7 separate regions of the Homo sapiens genome follow, and regions 2, 3, 4, 5, 6 and 7 are each linked to region 1. Evidence: promoter capture Hi-C in 16 types of primary human blood cells and fetal thymus (Javierre and others, 2016). All regions are on one chromosome and are shown on one strand. Each heading gives the region's core, a stretch centred on a gene start or on the middle of the fragment in contact. The rest is flanking DNA. Distances are from core to core; before and after follow the strand shown. Region 1 holds the start of APOBEC4 (apolipoprotein B mRNA editing enzyme catalytic polypeptide like 4). Region 2 overlaps TSEN15 (tRNA splicing endonuclease subunit 15). Region 3 has its middle 2.4 kb from the start of TSEN15. Region 4 overlaps NMNAT2 (nicotinamide nucleotide adenylyltransferase 2). Region 5 overlaps COLGALT2 (collagen beta(1-O)galactosyltransferase 2). Region 6 overlaps NMNAT2 (nicotinamide nucleotide adenylyltransferase 2). Region 7 overlaps COLGALT2 (collagen beta(1-O)galactosyltransferase 2).

The links. The method cuts DNA at HindIII sites, captures the fragments that hold promoters and counts their contacts. A CHiCAGO score of 5 or more calls a contact.
Region 2: a contact is called between a fragment that was not itself captured here and the fragment with the promoter of APOBEC4 in region 1, in 2 of 17 cell types (activated CD4 T cells and endothelial precursors). The highest score is 7.0, in activated CD4 T cells.
Region 3: a fragment that was not itself captured here is called in contact with the fragment with the promoter of APOBEC4 in region 1 in 5 of 17 cell types (non-activated CD4 T cells, activated CD4 T cells, total CD4 T cells and 2 more); the score reaches 6.8 in non-activated CD4 T cells.
Region 4: a fragment that was not itself captured here is called in contact with the fragment with the promoter of APOBEC4 in region 1 in 1 of 17 cell types (neutrophils); the score reaches 7.6 in neutrophils.
Region 5: a fragment that was not itself captured here is called in contact with the fragment with the promoter of APOBEC4 in region 1 in 1 of 17 cell types (M1 macrophages); the score reaches 5.1 in M1 macrophages.
Region 6: a contact is called between a fragment that was not itself captured here and the fragment with the promoter of APOBEC4 in region 1, in 1 of 17 cell types (neutrophils). The highest score is 6.4, in neutrophils.
Region 7: a contact is called between a fragment that was not itself captured here and the fragment with the promoter of APOBEC4 in region 1, in 8 of 17 cell types (naive CD4 T cells, non-activated CD4 T cells, total CD4 T cells and 5 more). The highest score is 6.9, in naive CD4 T cells.

The regions. Positions count from the first base shown.
Region 1 is chr1:183,650,946-183,654,982 of GRCh38, reverse strand. APOBEC4 (apolipoprotein B mRNA editing enzyme catalytic polypeptide like 4) reads left to right here and starts at 1,667. Exons shown (of 2, transcript NM_203454.3): 1 at 1,667-1,911. It also overlaps a transcript of RGL1 not described here. The HindIII fragment of the contact is 5,397 bases long and covers 875-4,037 here.
Region 2 is chr1:184,063,701-184,067,737 of GRCh38, reverse strand. All of the region lies in intron 3 of TSEN15 (tRNA splicing endonuclease subunit 15), which reads right to left. Among named protein-coding and RNA genes, the nearest start is that of TSEN15, 14 kb to the right of the region's middle. The HindIII fragment of the contact is 5,213 bases long and covers 1-4,037 here.
Region 3 is chr1:184,047,272-184,051,308 of GRCh38, reverse strand. No RefSeq gene overlaps it. Among named protein-coding and RNA genes, the nearest start is that of TSEN15, 2.4 kb to the left of the region's middle. RefSeq lists an enhancer at 1-660. The HindIII fragment of the contact is 1,099 bases long and covers 1,611-2,709 here.
Region 4 is chr1:183,267,192-183,271,228 of GRCh38, reverse strand. All of the region lies in intron 8 of NMNAT2 (nicotinamide nucleotide adenylyltransferase 2), which reads left to right. It also overlaps the pseudogene RPS3AP8. Among named protein-coding and RNA genes, the nearest start is that of LAMC2, 83 kb to the right of the region's middle. The HindIII fragment of the contact is 7,306 bases long and covers 1-4,037 here.
Region 5 is chr1:184,025,485-184,029,521 of GRCh38, reverse strand. The region is part of intron 1 of COLGALT2 (collagen beta(1-O)galactosyltransferase 2); the gene reads left to right. Among named protein-coding and RNA genes, the nearest start is that of COLGALT2, 10 kb to the left of the region's middle. RefSeq lists an enhancer at 3,922-4,037. The HindIII fragment of the contact is 238 bases long and covers 1,527-1,764 here.
Region 6 is chr1:183,283,768-183,287,804 of GRCh38, reverse strand. NMNAT2 (nicotinamide nucleotide adenylyltransferase 2) reads left to right here. Exons shown (of 11, transcript NM_015039.4): 5 at 1,017-1,143; 6 at 3,015-3,095; 7 at 3,766-3,810. Among named protein-coding and RNA genes, the nearest start is that of LAMC2, 100 kb to the right of the region's middle. The HindIII fragment of the contact is 3,071 bases long and covers 516-3,586 here.
Region 7 is chr1:183,951,798-183,955,834 of GRCh38, reverse strand. It overlaps COLGALT2 (collagen beta(1-O)galactosyltransferase 2), which reads left to right. Exons shown (of 12, transcript NM_015101.4): 7 at 997-1,073. Among named protein-coding and RNA genes, the nearest start is that of COLGALT2, 84 kb to the left of the region's middle. RefSeq lists a silencer at 1-3. The HindIII fragment of the contact is 3,444 bases long and covers 249-3,692 here.

The DNA of each region.
Region 1 (4,037 bases), core at 418-2,917:
TTTCACTGTGAACAGGAACCATGGTAAAGGCCTTTCATTTCCTCCTGATGAAGTTTAGTCTTAAAAGTCATTCTGTGCAACCTAAATGGAATGTTGCCAACTTAACATTCCTTGGAGTCTTCCTACATCTAACAGACAACTACCTTTAAAGAATAATGACTAATTGGGGTTGCCTATCCCTAAAATCACCCTAAAATGCAATTGATAAATGTGCTAGTGGACAAAGGCTCATTTTTCCTGTTTCTTTAGGCTTAACCTTCCATAGGTATATCATTTGCTGAGCATCTAATCCACCATGGAAGGTGCACAGTGCACATGGGATGCTGGTGCAGATTTGGGGACTATATTTTTTGTCTTTTCCTCCCCTCACTGGAACCTGTCAGACAGCTAATACTTTCTTACAGAACTGAGCAGGCCCTCAGAACTTGATTCTTCAGCTAGCGGGAGAAAAACCCCAACATGTTCTCTTCAACAGTCAGCTATTATCCTTTCACCCAGCTTTTGATAAGTAATATTTTTAAAGTAATGTTTGCAATAGATTGTCATTTATTAGGATTAAATAAAAGATGAGCTATGAGGATTGACTTTCAGTTCCATATTTACAAGTTCATTCAGTTAGAAGATGCAAGCAATGAGAAAAAAGGGATGACCCATGGCAAACTGTGGGGAAGGGACAGGATGCAGCAGTGACCATGTGCCAGAGCAAGCACCAAGGAAGATGAAACTGAAAATAACCAGCTGAGGAGTTCATGAATACACCTGAGGCCCTTAGGAGACAAAAACATCTCGTCTAGTAGGAGCACTCTGGATGAGAAAGGATGTGTGCTGTGGTGCAGACTGGAAGTCTGACAGTGGAAACAGGCGTGGCGAAGCTTCGAGAAGACAGAAGGTGCCCTCTGGGTGCTCAGTATCCCTGAGTTATTTTTAGAGTATGTCTGCTTACAGCCAATAGTTATTACTGGAATGTACACAATAGCAATCCCCACTCACTCCTTCAGGTGGCCTGGGAAAGGGGAATGAGGGAATAATCCAGAGTGATTGACAGTGAATTGTGACTATCAATGTGCCTTGTGTCTAGGAGATGATGTGGGGGTCAAGGGAGACTAAGGAAAAGAATGGAGAAGGACAAGTGGCTCTTCCGTTAGCCACAGAGAAGGGGCTACAACCGATCCTGGAACAAATCTTGTCTTAAACTGGAGGGAACCACATACATACCAATAGCAAGAGTCTTCCAGGCAATTTCTAAGAGGAGGGAAACCGCTAACACATAGCCTAGGTTTAGACAGAATCAAAAACACCCCCTTCAGGGACTATGGGCCTCTTGGAGGAAGTCAACTCTCTGCTCCCTCTCACAGAGGGCAAGCCTCCCAAGGAGAAGCCCTGGCACCCACGCAGGCAACAGAACCGCCAGGCCTGGCACCTACTCTAGACCAGGAGAAAGGTGCTGAGGAGCAGGCCCTCAGAACTTGATTCTTCAGCTAGCAGGAGAAAAACTGCAACATGTTCTCTTCAACAGTCAGCTATTATCCTTTTACCCAGACTGGGATATGCAGTCCTGTATATTTTCATCTTTGGAACAGGTGGCTTGATATGCAAATAAAGTAATAAGTGTCAGAGCTGTATCCTAGCAGTAGCTACTTTGCAAACGTTACCATGGCACCCAATCAACAGTGTTCTTAGAGGTAGCCACACCTCAGCAAGGGCTTTCTAACTTGGAACAGCAAAGTTCAAATGAACGAATAGACACAAACTGTGAAAGAGTCCTGAACCCATTACAAGGTGAATCTTTACAGCACAATTGCCTTCTGAAGCTACTTGAAACAGGGCATGGGACTTAAAGGAGAAAAAAAAGGAAATGGACCATCTCTTCTAACACCTGGAATGTGATCCAAGCCTGGAGACAAATTGATGGTAATTATAACTGCTAACATTTGTTTTTAGCTGCTAACAGATTGTGCACAGATTGTGAAGGGCAAACTCCATTCTCCAATTACTCCAGTGCAAACTGTGCTTTAACAGTACTCACTAAATCCTAGTTGAGTGAAATGAGAGCAGATTGTCCTTATGGTGTGGTTCATTTATGTTAAACTATGGAAAGCTGTCCTCCCACGGTCCCAGTCCAGGGGCCACTCACAGCCAGATGCAGAGAGCCCTCCAGCACGCTGGGCTCTACACATCTCTGTTCTTACTGCCAGCAAATCTGCTCTACAGAGTATAACATGTATTTCCCAAGCACAGACAAAGCAAAAGGAAAAGGGCTAGGCAGGAAGTAGGGACACCAGCTGCTGGGGAAACAAGTCTTAAGCAACCTGGCTTGTGAGCCAATCAAGGTTGCTAAGGTAGGTCCTGGGCCTAAACAGGGTACATTTCCACCTGGTTGGGGAGAATAAAATGACAGATACCAAAAGTTAACAAGATAATCTGTGGTCGATAACAAATTGATACAATAAACCATGAATTCTCTAAGAGTTCAAAGAGGGCAACAGTTCTTTCCTGCTTCCTCTTCAGATGAGGGTGATCAAAGAACAAGCCCAGAAAGACTCTGAAAAAGTGAAAACTTCACCAATAGGAAACTATAGTTGGTTGACACTGAAAAGTTGTCAGCAAGAATGAGACTACAGAGCTCCCTCCACTATGTGTTAAAGCCACAGTCCTCTCCATCTCCTTAAAGACAGTAATGATGTATCATTTCTGGCTAAAACAGCCACAGAAGATGGGGGTGCAAAGGAAGGCGTGCTTAGAAAAGCAATAGGGAGTTTCCATTTTGCTACCTTTATCTAAAAACACACAAAGACTTTTGTTTCCCAAAAGGGTAATTATGGGACCATTATATATAGTTAACTCCACATACACATCACCTTAAGAAATAGTAATAAAGACAGAAAAGTGCCTTTTGGTTCTGTTTCCATAACATTTAGCCAAATCAATCTGTAAATTGTCTATGGGTGAGTTGAAATTGTAATCTGAGCAGTAACCTGGATGTCCGGTGTACCACCCATAAGTCGACCACATCAAGGGCACAATATTAAAAAGCATGAAAGTTTGGGCTTGGTTTTGGCAAGTTCTGATGGAGAGATCCATCCAGCCTGATGAAGGCTAAGCAAGGAGGAGGTCCAGAGAGGAAACAATGCTCGGGAGTAAGCAGGAAATGGCGTCAGGTTCCAAGAGATCGTCCACTGCCAAGGGTTAAATCCAGCTCTCTAGAAGGAAAGCTATGACAAGGTCTAGGAAGCCTCAAGGCAGGAATTCAGTTACATCAGGAAAATATAGTACTAAGGAAAAAACAAAGCTAATGTCCAATCCTATGGATTAAGATGACACAGCAGAGGCTAGGAGAAATCTAGAATCTGGTGGGTATGTGGTGCCAGAGTTACTGCAGGATATTAGCCACTAAGATAATGGTGACATGAATAAAGCTACATTCCACCTACAGCTGGATTGAGGCTTTTAACATATTTTCTGCCCAGGATAGGATTAGCATAGGAACTCTGCAGGTTTCAGGCTAGAGATCAAGCTGTATCAAATACAGCAATGAATGAGCTGATGTGGGCTGAGGAAGACAGAAGGTGAACATAGCACTTCCATATGAGAGGCCATAATTTATTTATTAGCACAAGTATTCATACTTGTGATATGATAAGTGAGATTTTGAAAAGTGAAAAATATATTCTGTTGCAATGGTCAGTTTACCTCATTTAAATTTTCTGCCTTATCAGTTTTGTTATCTGACAAAGTTAAATGTAAAAAATGAAACCATAAATACTAGAAGAAAATATGGGGAATACTTAATTATGCTTTGATGAGGAAGGCATTTCTAAATACAATAAGAAAAAAAATCACAGGAGTAGAGACTGGACCACATAAAAATGTAAAATTTGGTGCAATTAAAATAACATTGGCATAATTAAAAGGCTGTATAAACCAGGTAAAATATTAGCAGCAAATGTGGCAGATTTAATATTCTTGATGCATAAAAATGTCTTGCAAACCAATAAGGAAAACTTCACGCAAAAAATAGGTAAAAAATCAAATATATT
Region 2 (4,037 bases), core at 561-3,060, 410 kb before region 1:
CCATGTTGGCCAGGCTGGTATCAAACTCCTGACCTCAGGTGATCCGCCCACCTCAGCCTCCCAAAGTGCTGGGATTACAGGCGTGAGCCACTGTGCCTGGCAGATTTTGCAGACATTCTAATTTTTTGGAAATTCTTAAAAGGTTGCTTATAGTATATTCTTATGTTCTTTAAGGTATTAATTAGGAAGTCTCTGCTGCAGGAACACAGTAGCCTAAGATAGCTTACCCAATCTTTCAACAAATACTTACTTAGCACCATGTACCAGGTACCAGGTTAGACCCCAGGGATATACCAATAAACAAAACCAAGTTCTCACTTTCAGGGAACTTACTTTCTAGTGGAGGAAAACAGACAGTAGATAATCAAAGAAAACCAAATATGAAATATGTTGAGTAGCATTAATATATCAAGTGTTTTAAAGGAGGACCACTTAGTAGGTCCAGGAGGTGAGATAATAGCAGCTTAAGCCAGAGTGGTAACAGTTGTAGTGTAAGTGGTAAGAAATGGACAGATTCTGGATGTAATTTTAAGGAATTGACAGGGTTTACTGATAAATTAATTTGGGGGTATGAGAAAATGGAAGAATAAAAACTAAGAGATTATAGCAAGGTTACAGGATACAAGGATAATATACAAAAGTCCACTGTATTCCTATATATCAGCAATAAACAATTGGAATTTGAAATTAAAAACAAAACACCATTTACATCAGCATCATAAAAGATAAATATTTAGGTATAAATCTAACAAAATATTTATAGGATCTATGTGAGGAAAACTGTAAAACTCTGATGAAAGAAATCATAGGAGATCTAAACAAATGGAGAGATAGTCCATGTTCCTGGATACCAATTCTTCTCAATGTGATCTACAAGTGCAATCCCATTCAAAATCCCAGCACGTTGTTTTGTAGATATTGACAAGCTGATTGTAAAATTGATATGGAAAGGCAAAAGAGTCAGAATATCCAACAAAGTGTTAAAGAACAAAGTGAGAGGACTGATTTTATCTGACTTTAAGGCCTATTACAAGCCGGGCACAGTGGCTCACACCTGTAACCCCAGCACTTTAAGAGGCTAAGGCAGGCGGATCACTTGAGGTTAGGAGTTTGAGACCAGCCTAGCCAACATGGTGAAACCCTGTCTCTATTAAAAATGCAAAAATTAGCCAGGTGTGGTGGTATGCGCCTGTAGTCCCAGCTACTCAAGAGGCTGAGGCATGAGAATTGCTTGAACCCAGGAGGCGGACCGGGTTGCAGTGAGCCGAGATCGTGCCACTCCACTCCAACTTGGGCAACAGAGTGAGACCCTGTCTCAAAAAAATCACATAAAGAAAAAAAAAAGACCTATTGTAAAGCTATAGTAATCAAGATCATGTGGTATTGGTTAAGGAATAGATGAATAGGTCAATGGAATAGAATAGAGAGCTCAGAATTGACTCACATAAATAGTCAATTGATCTTTGACCAAAAAAAAAAAGGCAATTTGATGAAGAAATAAACATCTTTTCAACAAATGGTGTTAGAGTAACTGGATATTCACCTGGAAAAAATCAATCTAAACACTGACCTTATATCCTTCATAAAAATTAACTAAAAATGGATCACAGACCTTAATGTAAAATGCAAAACTATAAAACTTCTAGAAGACAAAATAGGATGCCTTGGATTTGGTGATGAGTTTTTAGATAAAATACCAAAAGCATGATCCAGGAAAAAAATTATATCAGATTCTATTAAAATTTAAAACTTCTGTTCTGCAAAATACAATGTTAAGATAATGAAAATATAAGCCATGGACTGGGAGAAAATATTTGTAAAACACATATCTGATAAAGGACTTGCATTCAAAATATACACAGAAGTCTTGAAACTTATCAAAAAGAAAACCCAATTTAAAAATGGGCAAAAAATCTGAACAGACACCTCACCAAAGGAGATATACAGGTGGCAAATAAGCATATGAAAAGATGCTCAACATCATATGTCATCAGGAAATTGCAAGAAGTTAAAAGAACAATGAGATGCCATTGTGTGCCCACTAGGGTAGCTAAAACCCAAAATGCCATGCTAGCAGGGATACATATTGCTGAGTGAAAGCCAATCTGAAAGGCTACATACTGTATAATTCCAGCTATATGCCATTCTGGAAAAGGCAAAACAACACAGAAAGTAAAAAGTTCAGTAGCAGCCAGGGATGTGTTTGGGGGTGAAGAAAGGGATGAATAAATGAAGCATAGGGTATGTTTATGGCACTGAAACTATTCTGTATGTGATGATGAATACATGACATTATGCATTTGTCAAAATCCACAGAATTGTGCAAAAAGAATAAACCCTAGTGTAAATGACAAATTTCAGTTAATAATACTAATAATGTATGAATATTGGTTAATTGTAACAAATGTACCATACTAACACAAAGATGTTAATAATAGGGGAAACACTATGCTGGACTGGGACTTAGATGGGAAATCTCTGTACTATCTGCTCAATTTTTTCTGTAAATCTAAAATTGGTCTAAAAAATAAAGTGTGTGTGTGTGTGTGTGTGTATACATTTTAAAATGACTCTAAGGTTTTTGGTCTGAGCTTCAGAATGAATAGAGTTGCCATTTATTGACAAAAAGAAAACGACAGAAGGAGAAAGTATAGGAGCAAATCAAGATTTCTTTTTGGACATGCTAATTTGAGATGCCTTTTTTAGATCACAGCGGAGATGTCAAGTAGGCACTTACATATATGAGTCTGAGGTTCATGGAAGAGGTTGGGATGGAGATAAAAATTTGGGAGTCATCAGTATATCGATGATATTTAAAACCTTAGAACCAGATAAGGCCGCTTAGGGAGTGAGTATAATGAAGAGAAAAGCTCAGATGACTAAACCCTAGTTACTTAACCTCCTCAAATCCCCAAATTAGGTTCTTGCATTAATAGCTAAACATCTATATCCTTACAGATTTGCACATTGTAATTGGTATCCATTACAGAAAACAGAAACAAGCATTACAATTCCTAATATTCTGACTCAAATAATTTTCCCACCTTTGTTTCAGGATTTCCTACAGATTTTGTAGTGGCAAAACTCTTGATTTAACTTTCTCTTACCTTTGACTTCCTTAATCCTTAAGAGGTTGCTTCTCCTGAACTGTTACTTCCCAGGAGGAGAGCTGTTTGTTTGTTTGTTTGTTTTTTCATATTTTTTCTATGTCTGTCTCTCCTTTCCTCCCCTCCTTTTCCCATCATTCCCATATCTCTTGTATCACACATACTCACTCCTTCTCCACCCATGCCACACCAATCTAGGGCTTTCTCACCAACTGCAGGCAGGTACTCTCTCTGCCATTACTACATACCCAGTCATAATGAACTATTGGCAAATTTCAGGCCCTCTCAGCCCTCAATACCTTGCTCATGTTATTACTTTAACCAGGGCATCCATTCCCATCCTTGTTCCTTGTTCTTGCATATTTCAAACATCTTGTCCTCCAGTAAGTTTTCCCAGACTCTCTTGTCTCTTTATCCCACCAGTCAAAGTTAGGTCTCCTCCCTCTGTGGTCTTCCTCAGTACCCTGTACATATCTGTCATTACGTTTATCACACTAGATGTAAATGACTGTCCATCTCAGCTCCAGACTGTTAGCATCTTGTAGGCAAAGTCCATAATATTTTGCACCCGATGAGCCCAGGCAGCCAATAAATAAATAAGCAACTTAGAAAATACTGGAATAATTTGTAATTTACCTTTTTATTCTATCCTAAAACCAAATTTTGCCTCTAGGTAGTATATAATTATGTTTGTATTAATTATATTTAAATAAAAAGTAAAATCAAATACATTTATAACATTTTTAGTGATGGGTAAGAACAATAAATAAATTTTTAATTTTCCCTACACATCTCGGGGTTTTAAAATATTAGGTTTTTTCTTCTCCCCATGAAAACACAAAGGCAATGGATTTAAAAATAAATAATTCGTCCATTTATATTATCTGGGTTACTGCTGTGATAATACAAACAGCTAATAAAATGTTCTTT
Region 3 (4,037 bases), core at 911-3,410, 400 kb before region 1:
TTCAGGATTAGAGGAAACACGAGTTGCTGAACGAGTGTTCAGAAAGGTAGGATACAAACTAGCATAAGCATGTGATCTGGAAGCCAAGGATGAGGAGTTTCAAACAGGCAGAGTAGCACATTTTAAGTATTTTTTAATTTACTGTGAGTGAAATGGGAAGCTATTGGAGGCTCCTGGACGTTTTCATAGGATCACTCTGACTGATATGTTGAGGATAGACTGGAGGGAGCAAGGACACAAACAGAGACTGGTTAGGAGGCTATCGCATTGACCAGGACAAGGGTGACTCAAAATCCAAAGTCCCAGGCAGGACATAACTTCTGTTTTCAACCATGATAGACTAAGACCCTAGTGGACCATCCCCCAGCAGAAAACAATTTGGACACAATGCAAAAAGCTGAATATACTGGAATGTGAATAGTGGACTGGTAGGAAGGGCAAGCTTGCTTGAAGATCAGGAACTACACTTGGACACAATACAAAAAGCTGAATATACTGGAATGTGAACAGCAGACTGGTAGGAAGGGCAAGCTTGCTTGAAGATCAAGAACTCCACAAGAAAATTCTCCTCTCTTTGGCATTTAGCTTGGGGCAAAGTGCAGTCCAGAAGTCAGGCTCAGCAGTACCAGGGATGCATGTATAAAACTTATCAGTTATTCTTGTCTGGGGAAGCAGAAAAGTGAAGACAGAAAATTTTGAATTCTGAAGAGATTAAGAAATCCCAAGGAAGGAGTCAGAGAGTGGATCCCCAAACTGTCAACCCACATCTCTGAGAGATCCTGAACCACCCAAAACAGAATCACAGCAGCTCAGTTAAAAACAAAAGATCTGAACTGAGACCAGAGCTGTCTCCAAAAGGGAGAGAGTTTTCAGTTAAAATCTAGCCGGGAAAATTACCTACTAATACAAAGGAAATAACACTCATCAGAGAAGAATAATAGAATCCAGACTCTCCACTTAACACTCACAAAGTCCAGAGTACTATCCAAAACTATCTGACATATGAAATTCAAGGAAATGGATCGCATACTCTAGAGATCAACCCTGAGATGAATCAGATATTGAAACTGACAGATAAGGATTTTAAAGTGACTATTATAACTATCCTCAATGAAGTAAAACATGTTTTCAATGAATGAAAATCTCAGGAGACAAATAGAAAATCTCAGCAAAGAAAAAGAAAAAAAAAGATTTTTAAAACCAAATGGAAATTCTGAAAATTGAAAATTATAATTTTAGAAATAAAAAATTCACTGGGTGAATTTAACAGCCAAAAAAAATTACAAAAGAAAAAGTAGGGAACTTGAAGATAGAGCAATAGAAATTATTAAAAGTAAACAACAAAGAGAAAAATTATCTTTAAAAAGTGAGTAGACCAACAGAGATTTGCTACATGTCAGACAATCCAACATGCATGTAAACAACAGAAGTAGAAAAAAAAAGGGACAGAAAAAATTTTTGAAGAAAGAGTGGTGGCCAGAATTTCCCCAAATTTGATGAAAAACACATTTACTAGTACAAAATGCTAAATACATAGCAACTAAAATAAACACAAAGAAGTCTACATTGTAATAAAACTATTGAAAGTCAAAAAAATAAAGAGAAAAGCTTGAATGCATCAAAAGAAATAACACATCATACACAGGGAAAAGAAGGGCATCTATTATTGAATGAAATGTAAAGCCACACATGAAGATTCATATGTTGCCCTCAAATACATTACATTTGAATGAACCTTTGCCACCACAAAGCAGCTGCTAAGCCCGAAAGAAGAAAATGGCACTGAAATTAATTGGGTCATTGAAGCATGAAACACTGACACGAATTCAAGTGATTGGAAGTGAATAAATCTCTCTGACTCCTAAAGATCCAAATCAGTTCATATGATGGCATTTTTAAAAGCATTAAGAGTATTTTGATGCTAATCTGAGTAGAGGGAAACTTTTATAAATCAGTAAGGATATCCAATGGGATTAGGGACTATATGAACCAGCCTCAAACATCTGCAGGGGAAGAATTTCAGCTTATGTTCAAGAAAAAATAATTGGGGGTATGGAAAGAACCATAAACCAAAAAAGCAACAGATAAATGCCATCCTTTGGCAAATAGATTAAATACTGTTGCTTAGAAAAAGCATGATACATTCAAGAATGAGTATTACGTGCTTTTCAAAAGAGTTGAAGAATGAAAAGGGAGTGTCTGTTAGCTTCCCTGTTAATGTAAATTTTTAAATAGGTCTTGGTGATTGTGAATGGCTAAGAATGAACACAAAGGATTTGGGAACACTTAGACAACCCAGTATTTAAAGTACAGAATCAAAATACCTATTGTGACAATCTAGAGTGAAATCCACTAGAGAACAGAGGAGAGTTTCAGTGTCTGGTATCCTGGAGGATTTCTCATTTTGTAAATGCTTCAATAGTTCACTCTATTAGAGAACCAAAGTAGTGAGAAAAAAAAGCTAGATAAGAAACAACGAATGAAATCCCCCCTGAGTATATTGGATTTAATCAAATTCATTGTAATCTGGCACTTGCTGAACTCATTTCCCAATGATATCCTGAGCCAGATCATTTTATTCCTACAAAAATCTGTAATGTCTAGCCAGAGACATATTAATTCAGTAAGAGTCTCGAGGAAATGCGAACACTAAATTGTGATGTGAATCTCTAGTGTGGAAAGAAAATTTAAAAAAGAAGAAGAAAAGCTTTTACACAGTATTGTATGAGACAGTGATTCCAAGCTGAAAAATGTAGCCTAGCATTCTGGATCAGCTTTTCATTCATTGGTTGTAAGGAGGTTCACATATATCTTGTTCCTTTTTTTGTACACAAAACACACAATTTCCTATTCTCTGTGTTTCAAGAACAGAGAAAGATTCAAGAAAGAGAATGATTCAATATTGTAAAGATGGCAATTTCCTCCAAAGTTATTTACAGATTCTATCAATTCCAATTAAAATCCCAAAAAGTATTTTCTTAATACCTGATAAACTGATTCTGAAATGTGGGCATAAAGGGCCAAAAATAACCAAGACCCTTTTTGTGAACAAAAGGGAGAGAACTTACGAAGTTAAAGTTCTGAAATATAAATATCTTATAAAGATAAGGTTTTAAACAAAATTTAAATTCTTACAAAGATCTCTAATTACAAGTATGTGATATTGGCACATGGATAGGTAAAACCAATGAAGCAAAATAGGGAGCCAGGCAACAGACCCATACACATGTGGGCAGATGCAAGAAGGGAAGGAGAGAAGGGGTGATTGGCTACACGGTATAGGCAAACACTTTTAAATCTCTAGGAGAAAATATAAAAGAATATTTTATGACCCCAAGTTTAAGAGTGATTTCTTAAGACACAAAAAGCACAAACCATATGCTTCACTCATGTCCCTGTGAAGACACCACCAAACAGGCTTTGTGTGAGCAACAAGGCTGTTTATTCCACCTGGGTGCAGGTGGGCTGAGTCTGAAAATAGAGTCAGCGAAGGGAAATAGGGGTGGAGCCGTTTTATAGGATTTGGGTAGGTAAAGGAAAATTACAGTCAAAGGGGGTTGTTCTCTGGCGGGCAGGGGTCGGGGAGGGGGGGGTCACAAGGTGCTCAGTGGGGGAGCTTTTGAGCCAGGATGAGCCAGGAGAAGGAATTTCACAAGGTAATGTCATCAGTTAAGGCAGGAAGAGGCCATCTTCACTTCTTTTGTGATTCTTTAGTTATTTCAGGCCATCTGGATGTATATGTGCAGGTCACGGGGAATATGATGGCTTAGCTTGGGCTCAGAGGCCTGACAATATGGAAAAAATTTGGTAAATTTAACTGTATCTCAGTTAAGAATTTCCAACACTAAGAGAGTGGAAGGAAAATGACATCTGTAACACACAATTGAAAGAAAAGATACCCAGAATATATACAGAACTCCTAAAAATCAATTAGGAAACAAAACAAAACACTCCTTAGGTTAAAAAAAAGAAAGTAAACAGAAAAAAAGACATAAAAGGCCAGCAAACATAACTTGATGTTCAGCAACATTGATTGA
Region 4 (4,037 bases), core at 730-3,229, 380 kb after region 1:
TTTAATGATTACATGTATTAGCTGCTCTCAAGAGTATTTGCATTTCAAATGAGCAAGAGTCAATATTTAACCCAAAAGAGTAAAAACTTGGGGATGGAACATCAGCCACCAGAGATGGCCACTGAGGGAATTGTTTTATCTTTTTTTCTTTTTGCGCTCCTCAAAGCCCAGCATTCCACAGGCTGGTTCTAATTGGCTGTATCCTACATTTTTCCAGCCAACCAGCCGTGGGCTAACTGCTTCCTACATCCATCAGCTATGGGAAAACAACCAAAGAAAATAAACAGAGGAAGAGCCTCGGGCATTAGCCACTCCAGAAGAAATCCCAGGGCCCCAGGATAAATGGAACAAAGACAAACTTTGGCTATTCAGGCTCAGATGGTTTTTATCAGACAGTCCAGCTCCAGCCAGGAAGCCTGATGGACTCTTGCACCCCAGGGATTAGGCCCCCACACTGATACGACTGATACCAAACGATACCAAATTACAGTCTCAGGGGAAGGAGGCTCAGCTCCTGCCAATGGGGGATTCTGGCTGTTCTCATGTGAAAGGCACTGTTGGTTTGGTTTCCAGGCTGTTGACTTGAGTCTGGAATCCCCTGCCTTCCCACACCCCCAGTTAAGTTGGCAGTGGGAGTGGGGATGATTTCATCTGGGAAGCCCCTCTTAAGAATGGTTCTCTCTCTTTTTTTTTTTTTCATTAAGAGGGCCATCCTGGAAATGCATTTCCACCTGCTGGACTCTGACCTTACTGGTTTCCTCCCAGCCTTTCCTCCAGAGAGTGGCAGGGGCTACAGCAAGGGTGGAGGATCCTTTACTGAAATGGAGGGAGCATGTTTCAGAAGCTGCTCATATACTGCATGGCTTTTGTCACAAGTTCTCTCTTTGCATCTTTTTAAACTCATCCAGAAGTATACTAAAATTATAATACTCTAAGGGTGATACAGAGTACCCCAGCCTCCCAAGTAGCTATGGTAAGCTGGGGGAAAAAATAAGGTAGAATGTATTTTCAACTAGAAATACTTCTTTAACCAAAAAAGTTTCAAGGCCAGGTGCAGTGGCTCACTACTGTAATCCCAGAACTTTGGGAGGCCGAGATGGGTGGATCACGAGGTCAGGAGATCGAGACTATCCTGGCTAACACAGTGAAACCCCGTCTCTACTAAAAATACAAAAAAATTAGCCGGGCGTGGTTGCGGGTGCCTGTAGTCCCAGCTACTTGGGAGGCTGAGGCAGGAGAATGGCGTGAACCCGGGAGGCGGAGCTTGCAGTGAGCTGAGATGGCGCCACTGCACTCCAGCCTGGGCTACAGAGCGAGACTCTGTCTCAAATAAAAAAAAAAAGTTTCAAGTCACTACAATATGAGTCTTAAAAGTGGATCTAGAAGAGGTGTGATGTGGAGGAAAGAGTCTTTAAGGCAGACCACGGTGGATTCCATTCACATTCACTCGTTAGCTGTGCAACTTGGACAGGTTATTAAATCTCACTGAGTCTTGGTTTCCCCACCTATGAAATAAGAACTGAGGCACATATCTCAGAAGACAGTTGTCATAAGGATTAAATGCGATAAGCTCCTAGTACTGTGCATGGCACATAGCAGGCACCTTAATCAATGTTTCTTCCCCTCCTTCCCAATGGGCCCATGTGCATCCCTGACTATCCTTATCCAGAGAAGAAACACAAATGGGCTGCAGTCGCTGATGTACTGTACCTGAGAAGAGAACACTGTTTGGGAGGGAAACTCAGGCTTCAGAACGCTGATCTCAGGATGGCCCTGCAGAGGATCTTGCCAGTTAAGCCTGCCAGGGCAAATCCACATACATTGGATCCTGTTGCCGATGGAAGTTTCAAGTCCTGTGTTTAAAATACTCTAATGGCATTTCTTTGCAATTGGAATGAAACCCTGTCTTCATGATGACCTGGTACTTGTCTACTTTTCCAACCGCAGTGTGTCCTAGTCCCGCCTAGTTTATTTAAACAGTTTTCCCCACCTCAGGGTCTTTGTACTAGCTGTGGCCTCATTGGGAATCCTCTTCTCCTAGATATCCCTGTGCCCATCCCTTCGTATCACGTAGGTTTCAACATAAAGGTCATTTTGTTTTATAATCAATATTGTACTTAACTCTATTTGATGTTTTCTTTTTATTTATTTATTTTTCAGAGACAGGGTCACACTCTATCACCCAGGCTAGCGTGCAGTGGCGTGATCATAGCTCACTGCAGCCTTGAACTTCTAGACTCAAGCAATCATCCTGGGGTCAAGCGATCCTCTTGCCTCATCCTCACAAGTAGCTGGGACTCAGGCACGTGCCAACACACTCAGCTAATTTAAAATAAAATTTGTTTTTGTAGAGATGAGGTCTTACCACCATGTTGCCCAGGCTGGTCTGGAACTCCTGGCCTCAAGTGATCCTCCCACCTTGGCCTCTTAAAGTGCTGGGATTACAGGTGTGAGACATCACACCTTGCCATGATGTTTTCTTATTTATATATTTATTTGTTTATGATCTCTCCTTACTTGAAGGTAAGCCCTTTGAGTACAGGAAACTTGCCTGTCTTATTTGCCAATACCAGAACAGTGCCCAGTTCACCATATACATGCTCAATAAAAGTTTGTTGAGTGAAAGGGTGCTTGAGAACAACTTGGTTGGAGGAGTTCAGCTCATAAGACAGTTTGCCTCCCCCATGGGATATGACCCAAACTTTTGCCAGTTACCCATAATATATTAGTCACTGTAAGATATTAGCCACCCGGTAGTAACCTACTCATATCTTCACAGCAGTAGATACAATTGAAAATAATCATTTGTTTAATGTCTCACACTAGAGAGTGATCTGTCCAAGAGATGAATCCATATCTGCCTTGCTCAACCCTGCATGCCTAGTGTCTAGGAAAGTGCCTGGCTAAGACCACAAGTCATCCACCCACTCAAAGCATCCCTTTAAATCCAGCAAGGCAGGGCAAGAGGCTGAAATTCAGCCTCTTGGAGGGATGATGCAAACTCTACGTTCCTTCCAAGAGCTCTGCTGCCTGGATCATGAGTGTTTTCTCTTCCAAGGCCAAGTTGCTTCCTGCCTCAACATGTCTCATATCCTTCCCTCAGATTCCCCACATTTGGGGAAGCAGAGTCTACCCCCTCCCACATCCTCTCCCCATCCCTATCCCTACCTCCCCTGGGGAGCCTTTGACCAGAAGATGAAAAGATATGATCAAAGCTGTGCCTGTGAGCAGGAAGTAGAAGCAGGATAAATGTCACAGACCCCCACCTCTGAGGCTCGACATATGCCAGTGCTAAACTGAGGGCCACTGTATGCTGCAGGGGGAGAAGATTGTGTCCTGATCCTGCCCATGGTGTGGGGTCACATTGGCCACCATCACGAATGAGATTTACCAATCAGGACAGTTCTACCGCATTGGCCACTCGCCCACCCCACCTCTCCACCCCCAAGGGCAAGACCCATAGAGAGCTCTTCATGAAGACAGGAGGTGCTGGTCCCCTCGAGCAGAAAAATAGTTCAGTTCCAGAGGCCTGGGCACACTCCTGCAGGCGGCATAGGAAGGGGATCTGAGTGCCCTATGCTTCCTGGGGTCAGATGTCTGCCCTTACACCCCCCCACTCCCCAGGGCACAGGGGGAATGTCCTTATTCTTGCTGGACTTCTCAGAGGTGCTGAGGTACCTGTCCCACAAGTATCTCATTTTGACCCCACCCTAAACAAGCCAGAATATTAGCAGCTTAGGTAATTGTCCATGTGATTTAAAGCAACAATTCCCAAAGGTGGGTGCACATCAGAAGGATTAGGGAGCTTTGTTAAGAGAGAGGCTGCAGCCCCTCGACACATGCTATATCAAAATTTCTCAGGTGAGGTCTGGGGAATATGTTTGTTGTTGTTGTTTATTTTCTTTTATTTTTCACAAATAATACTTTTTATTTGTCACCCTTAAAAGTCTGAATTTTTACAGAGTCTTGGTCCAGTGGCTTTTATCCACCAGCTTGTTCAACTTTAGCCCCTGTCTCTCCCCCAGTGGTTTTTCCAG
Region 5 (4,037 bases), core at 396-2,895, 370 kb before region 1:
AGTCCCCATCAGACCCACACTGTGTGCACTTGCAGTTAGTCCCCGCTGTCTTTCTTTGACTTGACTTGCCTGACCCATGTTGACATTTGGGTGGTGAGCTTTGCTCCCACCTCAGGCTGCTGAAGGAACCCTAGGACCCAAGCAGTAACTACTTTGGGGAACCAGCAGGCTTGGCAAGCTGCCAGCGAGTGACCTAGTGGTAAAAGGATCAGGATTGTATTACTTTTCCCTTAGCTCTCTACTCCTCTGGTAGGAAAGCTGTGCATTAATGTTCATAAAAATAAAAATCTCATTATAGGTAATAATTGAAAAGTCAGGTAGAATATAAATAGAGTGGCTGTAATTAATTTGCTGGAACTTTCTGTAGTTCAGATCCGTGAAAATGCAGCATTTGTGGTAGGTGGCATTAGCCAAGTCTCTTGCATGAATTAAACCTCAGATTTGGCTGCAGGGCGTTTCTTTTCCTCTCTAGGAGCACCATACAGAAATCCTTTCAGAGTTAGACTTTGAATAATAGCTCCATGACATCTTGCTAGGGCTGACTTTGTAACGTGTTTCACTTAATTGAAGCAACAATTATTATTTTAGTTGTTTGTCAAATTCAGCAAGCTAAGGCCTGTCCCCTGACTTGTTGGTTTAACTGATAAGATTTTGTTCCTCTGCAAACATAATGCAAAATAATCTCCTTCCCTCCAGTGTTTTCTGATTAATGTTTGAAGACATCTTAGAAGATATGTCTTTCAGAAACACAAATAATAACATAAATAATGATCTTAGAATAGTGATCTTGGGCTGTATACCCCCAAGAGTATGGTAGAAGATGAGTCTGGGACAAGCTGCTGAGCTGAAGCATTTTCATGAGTACCTGATTTCATTCACACATTGGCTTTATTGGAATAGTTCATTACCTTCCAGGTTGAATCACTTCAAGACCTATTGAGGGATACATCAGGCTGCAGAGAGGAGGTTCCTTACATAGAGCTTTCCCCATTTGGACTGCCAAGCCCAAAGTGCATACAATTGCTGCCAAGAGGGAAGTAGGACTGTTTCTTTCCAGTCCCTTTTCTTTCTGAGAGTGATTGTATATGTTTTGGAGATGGGGAGGGCAGTGGTGAAGGCAAGTATCTCATTCTCACAAGAGAGAGACATAACTCTAAGACAGGAGAGTCTGTGGAGGTACATTGATTGGTGTTCTCCCTGAAAGCCATATTAAGTGAGAAACTGCTGCATTTTAGAGTCTTGGGAAAGGTAGAATTTTCTAGAGACTAACAGTAGAACTTAAATTCTTGGGATAGTTGTGAAAAGTGTGGTTGTAGACATTTGGGGCCATAGCATTCCCGACACGGAGTCCCTTGCTGGACTAATAGACTGTTTTTTAGTTTCTTGGTTGCCAGCCAGCCCCATAATCCTGTCTCAGCACCACACACCACAATGATTATGGTTTACACCCGCCAAGATAGTGGAAAGTTGCTGCCAAGTGGAATCAGGATTTTTCATGTCATCACTGCACCATTGAACAGTAAGCTTATATGCAGCTTCCACGCCACTGCTTTCCTTGTGCTAGAAACAGGTTGGGCGGGAGAGTATTCAGACAGTCAGACCATCTCTTGTGTTGCAAATGGATTTTGTGGAATTGGCATGTAAGGCTTGAAACAGCCAGCATACGAAAATATTTTAGAAAAGTACAAGCCTCTTCTCTGCCTTTCCTCAATCTTGTTAGATTTTAATAAAATTTATTGGGTACGTTGGTTTCCATTGTAAGCTTTTTATTTAGCAAGACAAACTATGGATTTCTAAAACAATGGATTTTTAAAATGTTACATCCTTTTATTTATTCCACCATCACTGATTGTCTATGTGGATAAATCCAGGTAATCATGTTGAAATTAGTAATTGAGGTGGCCTAAAAGTGACTTGTCCCCATTGGTCTAGTTCATTGTCCATGAGTGGACATGGTCCTTACCATTGTTCTGCCAACCCTTTAGTGTAAGGCTGCTGGATTCAACTAGTGTTTCCCAAATACAGGTTCAGAGGCCAGTTGCATCACAATACCTGGAGCATTTGTTAGATACATGGATTTCTGGGGCCCATTTCAGTCACATTCATCAGATGGTCCACAGCGGGGTCCTAGGAATTGGTGTGTTAAGCATGTACATAAGTGATTTGGATGCACTTCTTCTTGGTTTGGGAACTGCAGAAGATGAGCTCCTAGAAGGCTATGTATGCACTTAAAGTACAGATCATGGGATTTTCAGAGTTTGGAAAGTTGGCATACTCTGGAATATTCTAAACTTCAGATTCCAGATGCTTAAGCCATCAAAAAGACCAAGGGGTTTTCTTATTAAGAGAAGTAGTAATGTACAGGATTACATAGGAGAAACCCAGCCAGGCATGCATCATTTGTGTTTTTTTGTTATTATTATTAAGTCAAGCACATATGTTCCATCTCCATCTAATAGTGACTATTTTTTTAAAAAGATTTTTTAAAAGACAATGCCCCAAATGTTTTACCCACTGTATGAAGCTCCTTGCACTGGGGCTCAGTATAAAACGACACTCCCTCACATTCTTTCTTCAGTGTATCTTACACAATGAGTTCATTAAGCCTTTAGTATTGCAGAAGAAAAAATACCTACTAATGAACATCTTAGAGTACAGGGAAATCAAACCAGTGCATTTCTTTAAACTAAGTAGAATTCATTTGAGCCACTTCAGTCCTTATATACCCTAATCTTGGTTTCTTTGTTTCTTGTATTTAATTTTCTTAGATTTTTCCCGTTGGCATACCATTAAAAATTCCTCCCCTCATTTGTGACAAATGTAAACAGTCTACTAAATTAGCCTGTTTTTAGTAGCTGGCAGTTCAGCCTTAATTACATGATATTACAAAGTCCCTAACCCTGGTGTCTTCACTAGCTATGAACTCAAAATATGGCTTTTTAGAAATTCACACAGTTCTGTTCTGCTATACAGAGGATTGTTCTGAGTTTGTTGCTGCTGCACAACAAATATTTTTTAAGAAGTTGATATAGCAGCATTATTATAACTGCATGTACAGCAGCCTCCTGTGGGGAAGATTGCAACTCAGTTGTTAAGTCTTATATGGTTCCATACCCTATTTTCTTGTGCTCTTTTGGTGACAGGGCAAAAATTCTACAATAAAGTTCTTAAGTTTATGCATCCACTTTATTTTTGTATCTTTTATCCTTCTCAAAAATGTGAACTGCATACCACAGCTTAGCACATCCCACCAAGAAAATAACAATCACCTGGAGATGAAGTGAGGCTGGTGGCAGTGGGGTCTCCAGGACAGTTTCCTCTAGCCAAAAGCAGCGTCTTTCATTTTTCCCTAGTGTGCAAATACGCTATCTGTGTTGTCCTGTGAAAGGTCTTGGAAGCATTGCTCATGCTAGGCTGCTTTGAGCAAGTCACTTAGTTTCTCCTGTAACATAAGGGAAATGTGCTAAAATTGTGCTTTTCAAATGCAGCCACTTATTGGAATCATTTGATGATCCAGGGCAATTGACGTATTTTGAAAACTTCCCAAAGGGTGGTAATATGCAGTCTTGCTTAAAAATCTCTAGATGAGATGTTCTCTGAGTCCTTTCCTGACCTAACACTTTCCTCTTCATGGGGATAACCATATCTGAAGAATGTTCACATAACTGCATAATCGATGCTTCCTGGACCCTCAGCCCAACTTTAGATCTCTGGGGGATGGCTTTAAAAAATCCTTTTCTAGGAAGCTCGTGGTATTTTATCCTGTTTTATACTGTGCGAAAGGTGTTTGCTAAGAGTGTTGTCTCCTTGGGAAGGCACGTGCTTGATGATGACTGAACTCCCAAGGAAAGTGGCAACATGAGAGCTAGCCTTGCAATGGCATATATTAGACCTTCTTATGAAGGAGCTGTGTGCACCAGGTAGAGAAGCAGCAGCTGCCCAGGAGGTCCTTCCTTTGGCACACAGATGGTTGCCTCTTGACTAAGGGAGCTGCATATATCAAGACTTCTGAGCACATCTAGCCAGGCTCTGGCCAG
Region 6 (4,037 bases), core at 802-3,301, 370 kb after region 1:
GGGTCCCCTGGCAGCAGAACCCAAATCCAGAAAGGGTAGCGTGCAGGAGTGGGTGGTGGGTACCCAGGCAGCTGGCTTTTGGAAACGAAGAAACCTTGAATAAGCAGTGGCCCCTGTGAACCTAAACAGATTGGGAATTTGTCCTTTGTTTCTCTGTTGCCCAACAGCTACTCTCCCCATCACCTTGGCCCAGTGGGATTGCTTCTGGGTCAGCTGTGAGGAATGCTGCCTTATCAGCTCTGTGTTTTCTGCAGCACTGGTGAGGAGTAGCCTGGCAGATAACTCAGGACAATAGATAATACACACAGAATTTCCACTTGGCTCTGTCATGTGTATTCACACTGAGCAGGCGAGAGAGTGCTCAGAACCCACCCACCCTGCTTCCCGCAGCACAAACACATCCTGTGCTGCCTGGCACCACTCTCCCTCTTGCTTGGCTGTGTTACTGACAGCTCTGGCCCAAAGAGGCCGCAGGTGGTGATCGTGCCTTGTGTTTGTATGACCTTTCCCAAGCTTACAGAGCCCTTTTGCAGACATGATCTCATTTGAGCCCCATGAAGCATTTGGGGAGGGCAGATATTCATGTTACACAGAAGGTTCCAGCATCGCCTGCTGCTGACAGAGCTCCTGCCATGGGTCAGGCACCCCATAGGCACTTTGCATATGCTCGCTTGTGTGACCCGACCACAACTGAAAAAGACAGATATATGGTTAGACTCCTGATTTGAGGTTCAGGAGCGATGAAATAACTGTCCAAGGTCACATAGCTAGAAGGAGGCAGAGCCCAAATTTGGACCCAGGACCCATTATAACACCACATCTCATGCTTCTCCCACTGAGCTGCTCCTGCCAGCCTAGTGACCACATGATGCAGCTGGGTCTAGAACCCATCCCCAGGGCTCTTCCTCAGCTCTGGGTGGCCTCTCCATGATGGACAAGCAGATGACCACTTGGAGATAACTTTGAAACGATTCTCAAAGTCACATGACTAATAACACTCTTCTCTCTCTCCCTAGAGGGTGACTGGCTGCATCCTCTCCAATGTCAACACACCTTCCATGACACCTGTGATCGGACAGCCACAAAACGAGACCCCCCAGCCCATTTACCAGAACAGCAACGTGGCCACCAAGCCCACTGCAGGTAGGGGAACACTGATGTGTGATTCTCAGACCTCAGAATCATGTGGAGGGCTTGTTAAATTAATGACTACTGGGATCCACCCAGAACTTGATTCAGTAGGTCTGAGAGGGGAAAGAGGACTTGTATTTTTAATAAGGTGCTGCTGATGCTGCTAGTCCAGAGACAATACTTTGAGGACCCTGAATACTGAGCATAAGAGCAAACCAGTCACAATCAGAGAGAGGCAGGTGGTGGTGTGCACTCTTCTCCTGCATTTAAATATAAACGTAGGGCCGGGCCTGGTGGCTCACGCCTGTAATCCCAGCACTTTGGGAGGCTGAGGTGGGTGGATGGCTTGAGCCCAGGAGTTTGAGAGTAGCCTGGGCAACATGACGAAACCCCACCTGTACCAAATAATAATAATAATAATAACAATAACAAAAATTAACTGGGCATGGTGGCACACACCTGTAGTCCCAGCTACTCAGAAGGCTGAGGTGGGAGGATCTCTTGAGCCCAGGAGGAGGAGGTTGCAGGGACTGGGGGACTGTGCCACTGTACTCCAGCCTGGGAGACAGAGTGAGACCCTGTCTCAAAAAAATACATAAATTTTGAGAAATAATTGTGTTAACTGGGAATTGAATATACAAAATGGAGCATTTTTCTCTGCCTCTTCTAGGGAGGTTGAGGATCTTGCCAAAGGTCACACAGTGAGCAAGAAGCAGGGCCATGAGTCACACCCAGGCGGTCCGCACCCAGAATCCCCACACTCTTAGCCATCAATCCAGTGACAGAGAGCACCAACACATACCCCAAACCTAGGACTATGTGCCCAAATGATGCTCGTGCTTTACCTGCGTTCTTATTTAATGCAGTAATACTGTGATATAGACATTATGTTCTCATTTCAAATAGAATACAGATTCAGAGAAGAAAAGTGATTTGCTGATTTGTCACACAGCTCAAAAGTAGAAGAGCTAGAATTCATATTCAGTACTGTCAGGCTCCCAGGTCCATGCTCTAAAATTTTCTTCAAGCCAACTCCAAGAGACAGATTCTGATATTACTTTTCAAGCCTGGAGACCATAAGCTATTATATTATTGGTCTATTATAAACAGGGTAATTCACAAAGAAGAGTCAGAATTTCACAGTTTGCATACAGCTACATGTGGGGGGCTCAGAAAATTTTTCTGGATTGGAGCCCAGAGGGATAATTGAAAACCAGATCCCTCTCAGCCAAATAGGATGTCTGATGATTCTGAAGACCATCTGCATGGGAAGGAGCGCCTTAGCCCAGCAGAAATGGTTCCAAGCATGTACTTTGCTGAATCTCCTTGGATGTGGGTGTAGCTGCCCAGTGGGAGGAGCAGCTAAGGATAGGCTTGGGACAAACCTGGGGAAGAAATGTTCATGATATAGAAAATGAAAGAAGCCAGCAGCCTATATGCCCTTTAAATGGAAAATCTGATCCACTTTATGTAGACATACCTGCATAATACACATTTAAAACATGAAAGAAAATAAATGACATGCCAACAGGTTGGCAGGAGTTATCTCTTGGGGTGGGATTATGGGTGCATTAAGTTTTCCTCTTTATATTTTCCCTCTTCTATATTTTCCAAGTTTTCAACAATGAAATAAACATAACCAGAAAATGGCTTCCAGTCTAGGGCTCACAATGCGTGTGCCTCAGACTGTGAGTGAGAAGAAGGAATTTGTGCTGTCATATTTCTGTTCTTTCTCTCTACCCTCCTGCTACCTCCTGCTCCCCACTCCTGCCCCGTCCATGCACCCTGATGTTTACAGCGGCCCCAATGCCGGGCCGACATGAGTGCCAGTTGTGAGTTGTTCTCTCCCACTCTGTCCCTGTCTGTCTTGCTCTCTCCCATAGCCAAGATCTTGGGGAAGGTGGGAGAAAGCCTCAGCCGGATCTGCTGTGTCCGCCCGCCGGTGGAGCGTTTCACCTTTGTAGGTGAGGAACCAAGGAACTTGATTCCCAGTCCTGTCTCTTTTCTTTCTCTCCTCCCTTCATTCCTTCAGCAAAGATCCTCAAGCACATTCCCCCCACCGCAAATTCCCGTGATTGTGTGTGTGTGCGTACTTGTGCACAACGTATCCCCCCACACAGGCGTTGCACACACAAGGGCACATCGAAGACTCAGTCTTTCACATCTTCCTGCAGGCACTTGCTACATTCCACCATGTGAAAAAGTTCTGCACCCACAGTGTGCTTGTTCTTTAAACCAGGTAATCCCTAAGGAGAGCCAGCCACCTCTTGTGGCCCAGAAAGCCATCTCCCTAGGTTGTAAGGATGTTGCTCTTGTGGCCAGCCTCCCTCAAACACAGAAACAGAAGGCGCTCAGCATGAGCGTGTGTGTGTTCGGCATTGGCTCCCCAGCCAGGCTGTCTCATTCTGAAAGTCCCAGCAATGTGAAGTGCTGCTCCTGGAGCGGGAGGAAAGCTTCCTGTCCGTTTTATGCCTGACTGCTCTCCATTCACCCTCCTCAGGTGGCACACCACACCCCTACTTGCACCCACCCCACCCCATCCCAATAATTCCTGCTGAGGCCCTCAGGCAGACTGTGTGTTGGGTACCAGGAAGCCTGTTCCCTAATGCCCTACCTTCCTTCTTTCCTCCTTAGATGAGAATGCCAATCTGGGCACGGTGATGCGGTATGAAGAGATTGGTGAGTGGGACTGCGAAAGTGCGGAAAATGGGGACATTTGGAGCTCCCTGCCTTCACGACAGGCAACATGGGGAGCAGAGAGGCTTGAAAACCCAGGGACTGTTTTGCAGCAGGGTCTCCTCTCGGAAGAGGGATCGTTCCCAGGCTAAGATTGCATTCGTAGTTAGCTCCCTTTAACATCTCTTAACTGGACTCCAGCCAACTCCCAAGAGATAGGACTGGATCAT
Region 7 (4,037 bases), core at 721-3,220, 300 kb before region 1:
AGATACGTTACAGTAGTCATGGCCATTACCCATAGTTCTTTCAACAACCCAGTTACCAGCTATCATTTTAAATTTTCTTTGTATTATCCCTTTAAGGAAAATCAAATGAGGACTTTGAATTTGTATAATACTAAACATTCTTCGAGGACTTTGAATTTTTATAATACTAAACATTCTTCAAGGCCTTTTCAGGTTTCTTAACCAATATTACTTCCAAACTTTAAAATACATAGTTTGCAAAGGAAGCTTTTTTAGAGTATCAAATAAATAAAACTTTCATTATTGAAGAAGTAGTGTCACTCCCAGCTGGAATCTTCCCATTAGACATGGGCCAGCTCTCTGTGGTTAGATCCTGTTAAAGCAATGGACCTTTTGCGCACCCACACCTAAACCTGCCCAGGTGGGATAAAAATAGTCCCCCACTTTGACAATTTTAAATGCAGAGAAAAAAGTGTTTTTCAGTAAAAATTCTAGCCTATTTCTGAGCTCTTTCATCATGGGCCATAGTAAGTAATAGCTAAGAGTTGTTGAGCATTTACTGTGTTAAAGTGGTGAGTGCTTTGCACGCAGGTCTCATTTAAATTTTATAACACAGATACACTTCTATTATCCCAATTTTACACCAAAGAAATGAGCTTAAAGAGGTCCCCTAACTCTCCTACTCCTTCGCAAACCAAGGTTTGGACCCAGATCATCCGACTCTGGAGCCCTTCCTCTTAACCATTATCCTAAACTGCCTCCCAAATATTCTTGAAATAAGTCTTAAGGGAAGTGGAGCAAATGTTGCAATCTCCATATAATCAAATGCTCCTGAAACCAGTGCCCTGACCAGCAGGGTTCCTGTGTGGCTACTCAATCCTGGAGAACTGCTGCCATTGTCCCCTGCCCTGTATTTCCAAGTTATATTCCAACCCTAGAGATCAGGCATGCGGATGGAATTCTGATTTCTGACCCTTTCATTAACAAAGCACTCTGCATGTTTCTTGTGTCTTCCAGTTGACCGTCCTCCAATGGAACCCTCCCAGTATGTCTCAGTTGTCCCTAAATATCCAGACAAGATGGGATTTGATGAGGTAGGAAAGGTGTCTATATGTGTGTGCACATGCACGCGTGTGCAGGCTTGTGTGTTCATTTTGGAACACAAGCCTGAGCTTGCATCTGAGAGCCAGCAAGACTGGCTTGGCTGCTGAAATGGCTCTGAGGTCTTGGGAAAACTACTTGGTTTTTGTTGTTCTCAGTTTCCTTATCTTAAAAAAAGGAGTATCATGATAAATGTAGTTAATCATTTACTTAGAAAGAAATTACCATTTAGTAATGAAAGTGAATTTGATATTTTCTAGGAGCAGATATTGTGATATTTTTAATCAACCTTTTTATCAAAATTCAAGAGTAAGATACAGAGGATACATGTTTTAGATATGGAGGACTTTAATTTTATTCTGCCACATCTGAGCAAGTGGAAACTATTCTGGAACTTTCTGTGCTTTCTTTTATTTCTACTATTCTTCCATGGAAAAAGGTTAGAGAGCAGGGTTGAGAGGACAAAGAAAGAAAAAAAAACATATTTGTTCTAAAATTCTGCCTTTCAGCAGGCAAGAACTTCCTAATAATATTCTAAGGGTAGTATTTATTATTAAGTTTTAGTTGTATAAAGAATGAAGCAGAAATATTAAGAGGTTCCCCTCCTGGTAATATGCGTAACAGATACTTGGCAGGGATTGTGACTCCACATCACTGACTCTCTCATGGGTGTCCCCTGTAGCTGCTGAACAGTATTCAGAAGGAGCTTGGTGGTCTAGAAGCTAGGGCAGTGCCTCAGGAGTCCACAAACTGAGAACTCTTCCATGGACTCTGGATATGTAACAGATCAGGCTTCGAGCTTGGTGCTAATTGCCACTGATTAATCGAAGGAAGATGCCTTATTTATCACATGGTAACATATACATACATATATGTACATGTCCCCAGAGTACAGCCTTCTCAAAGGGATTTGACGCTAGAACTGGGAATTAAGATTTCTTCCGTAAGACTGATTTGGAGCTATACTTCAGGAAGGGGGAAAGAATATTTCATGATTATTAAGTGGGGAAGAGTTAACAGCTACTATGGTATTTCCACAAAGGGCAGAATGAGAAGAGATGAGCTGCATGTAGTAGAGAGGAATAAGACTCATTTGCAAATAGTTTTTAAAAATGATCAGGGCTATAGAGAAGGTTGTCCCACACCCACAGTGGACCAGCTTCCACATGTTACTGTAGCTTTCCTTCCCTACAGCTCTCTCTCGGTTCCCTAGGTGAAAGGACCCAAGTGTCCTTACATAGATTCATTTCTCCTCCTAAAAACATTCCTATGAGGACCAAACCAAAGCAAATAAAATAAGACAAAACCAGGATCTTCCAGTTCCGGTCTTCTTTGGGCAGGACACGGTGTAAGGACTGGGTCACTCCTAGAGCCCTTCAGGAGAAGGCCAACTCCATGAAGTGGCACAGGCTCGGAGACTCTACTTTCCTGAGTCTGAGGTTAGTCACCTCTCCGTATGGAACAGAGATAGCATGGTAGAAAAAGGGCTTTTCAGGGGCTTTTCAATCCTCCTCGGACTCTGTGACCTCACTGGTGGTGTCTGGGCTGCATTTGGCTCTGATGCTCTTTTCTCTGTTTACTGTTCACTAAGTGTGAGTGAGCCATCTGTGTTTTTACTTCGTGGCTACAGTTTTATTGCACTTGTCCTGGCAGGGACTGGAACTGGATTGTTATTTACTGAAAGTCTTCCCAGACTGGAGGTCTCTGTTTTTGGGGGCCTTTTTGGATTTATTTCTGTTGATTTTTTGTTCTGTTCTGTTTTTGTTCTCTTAGAGTGACCTCAGGTGGCTTCATGTTTATACCTGAGAAAATGCCCTTTCCTTTCCATATCTGGAAAATTAGGGGATGAGGCATGACCCATCACAGTATGATTCTGACTAAAAGAACACAACCCATTAAGTTATAAAGTCCCAAGTAATGAGGCAAATAGAGTCACCACAGAAAATTATGTTTTTTACAAAATAATTACCCAGTTAGGTAAACAAGGAAGGTAGTAAAATTAGGATGCACTTAATCTACTTGGCCCTAAATCAGGTGGACAATTTCTTCAAAGGGAATATCTTGCTCCTCCATCAGTTTCTACACCCAGGGATTTATAAATGGATAGAAATGAGAATATTTTGCAAGGAAGGGTTGAAATTTTAGTTAGTGTAGCTTTTAATTCCAGTGAAACATATATTTATGACTGCATTCAGAATGACCATGTGAACCAAACCTTAACACAGTACAATCTGAACTCCAGACTGGTTCTAAGACAAAGTTTCTCCTTTATTCTGGCCATAGCAGAAAGCCAACTTTATTATAAACCACCTGTCTTAAACATTTTAATCTGTACTGAATTTGAAAGATGAGTTTGTGCACCTCCCTATTTTTATAGAACTGGACCCATAAACATTAATGTCTCCTCAAAGTCATCCAGATGGTTAGTCAGGATGAAGTCAACACCACCTGACTTGTTTCTATAGGTTTCTGCTTTACCATGCTATGTGTCATCCTCATTTCTCACTGGCAGTTAAAGTCACTAGTTTAACATTTAAAATGAGTTTCTTACTATTTGTAGCAAAAGGACCTTATTAAAACATTGATTTACGTGTAAAGGCATTCACAAAGCTTTAGATACTTCTATGGTTCATTAAGTCTGGGAATAGTGAGGACATCCTCATTATCTGTAACTCTTGTTGTCCTTGTTGAAAATGAGTTGGCTGTAAATGTGTGCACTTATTTCTGGTTCTCTATTCTGTTCCATGGTCTACGTGTTGTCTATTCTTATGCCAGTACCATGCTGTTTTGGTTACTATAGCTTTGTAGAATATTTTGAAGGCAGGTAGTGTGCTGCCTCAAGCCTTGTTCTTTTTGCTCAGGACAGCTTTGACTATTCAGGGTCTTTTGTGGTTCCATGAAAATTTTAAGATTTTTTTCTGGTTCTATGAAAAATGTCATTTGTATTTTGGTAGAGA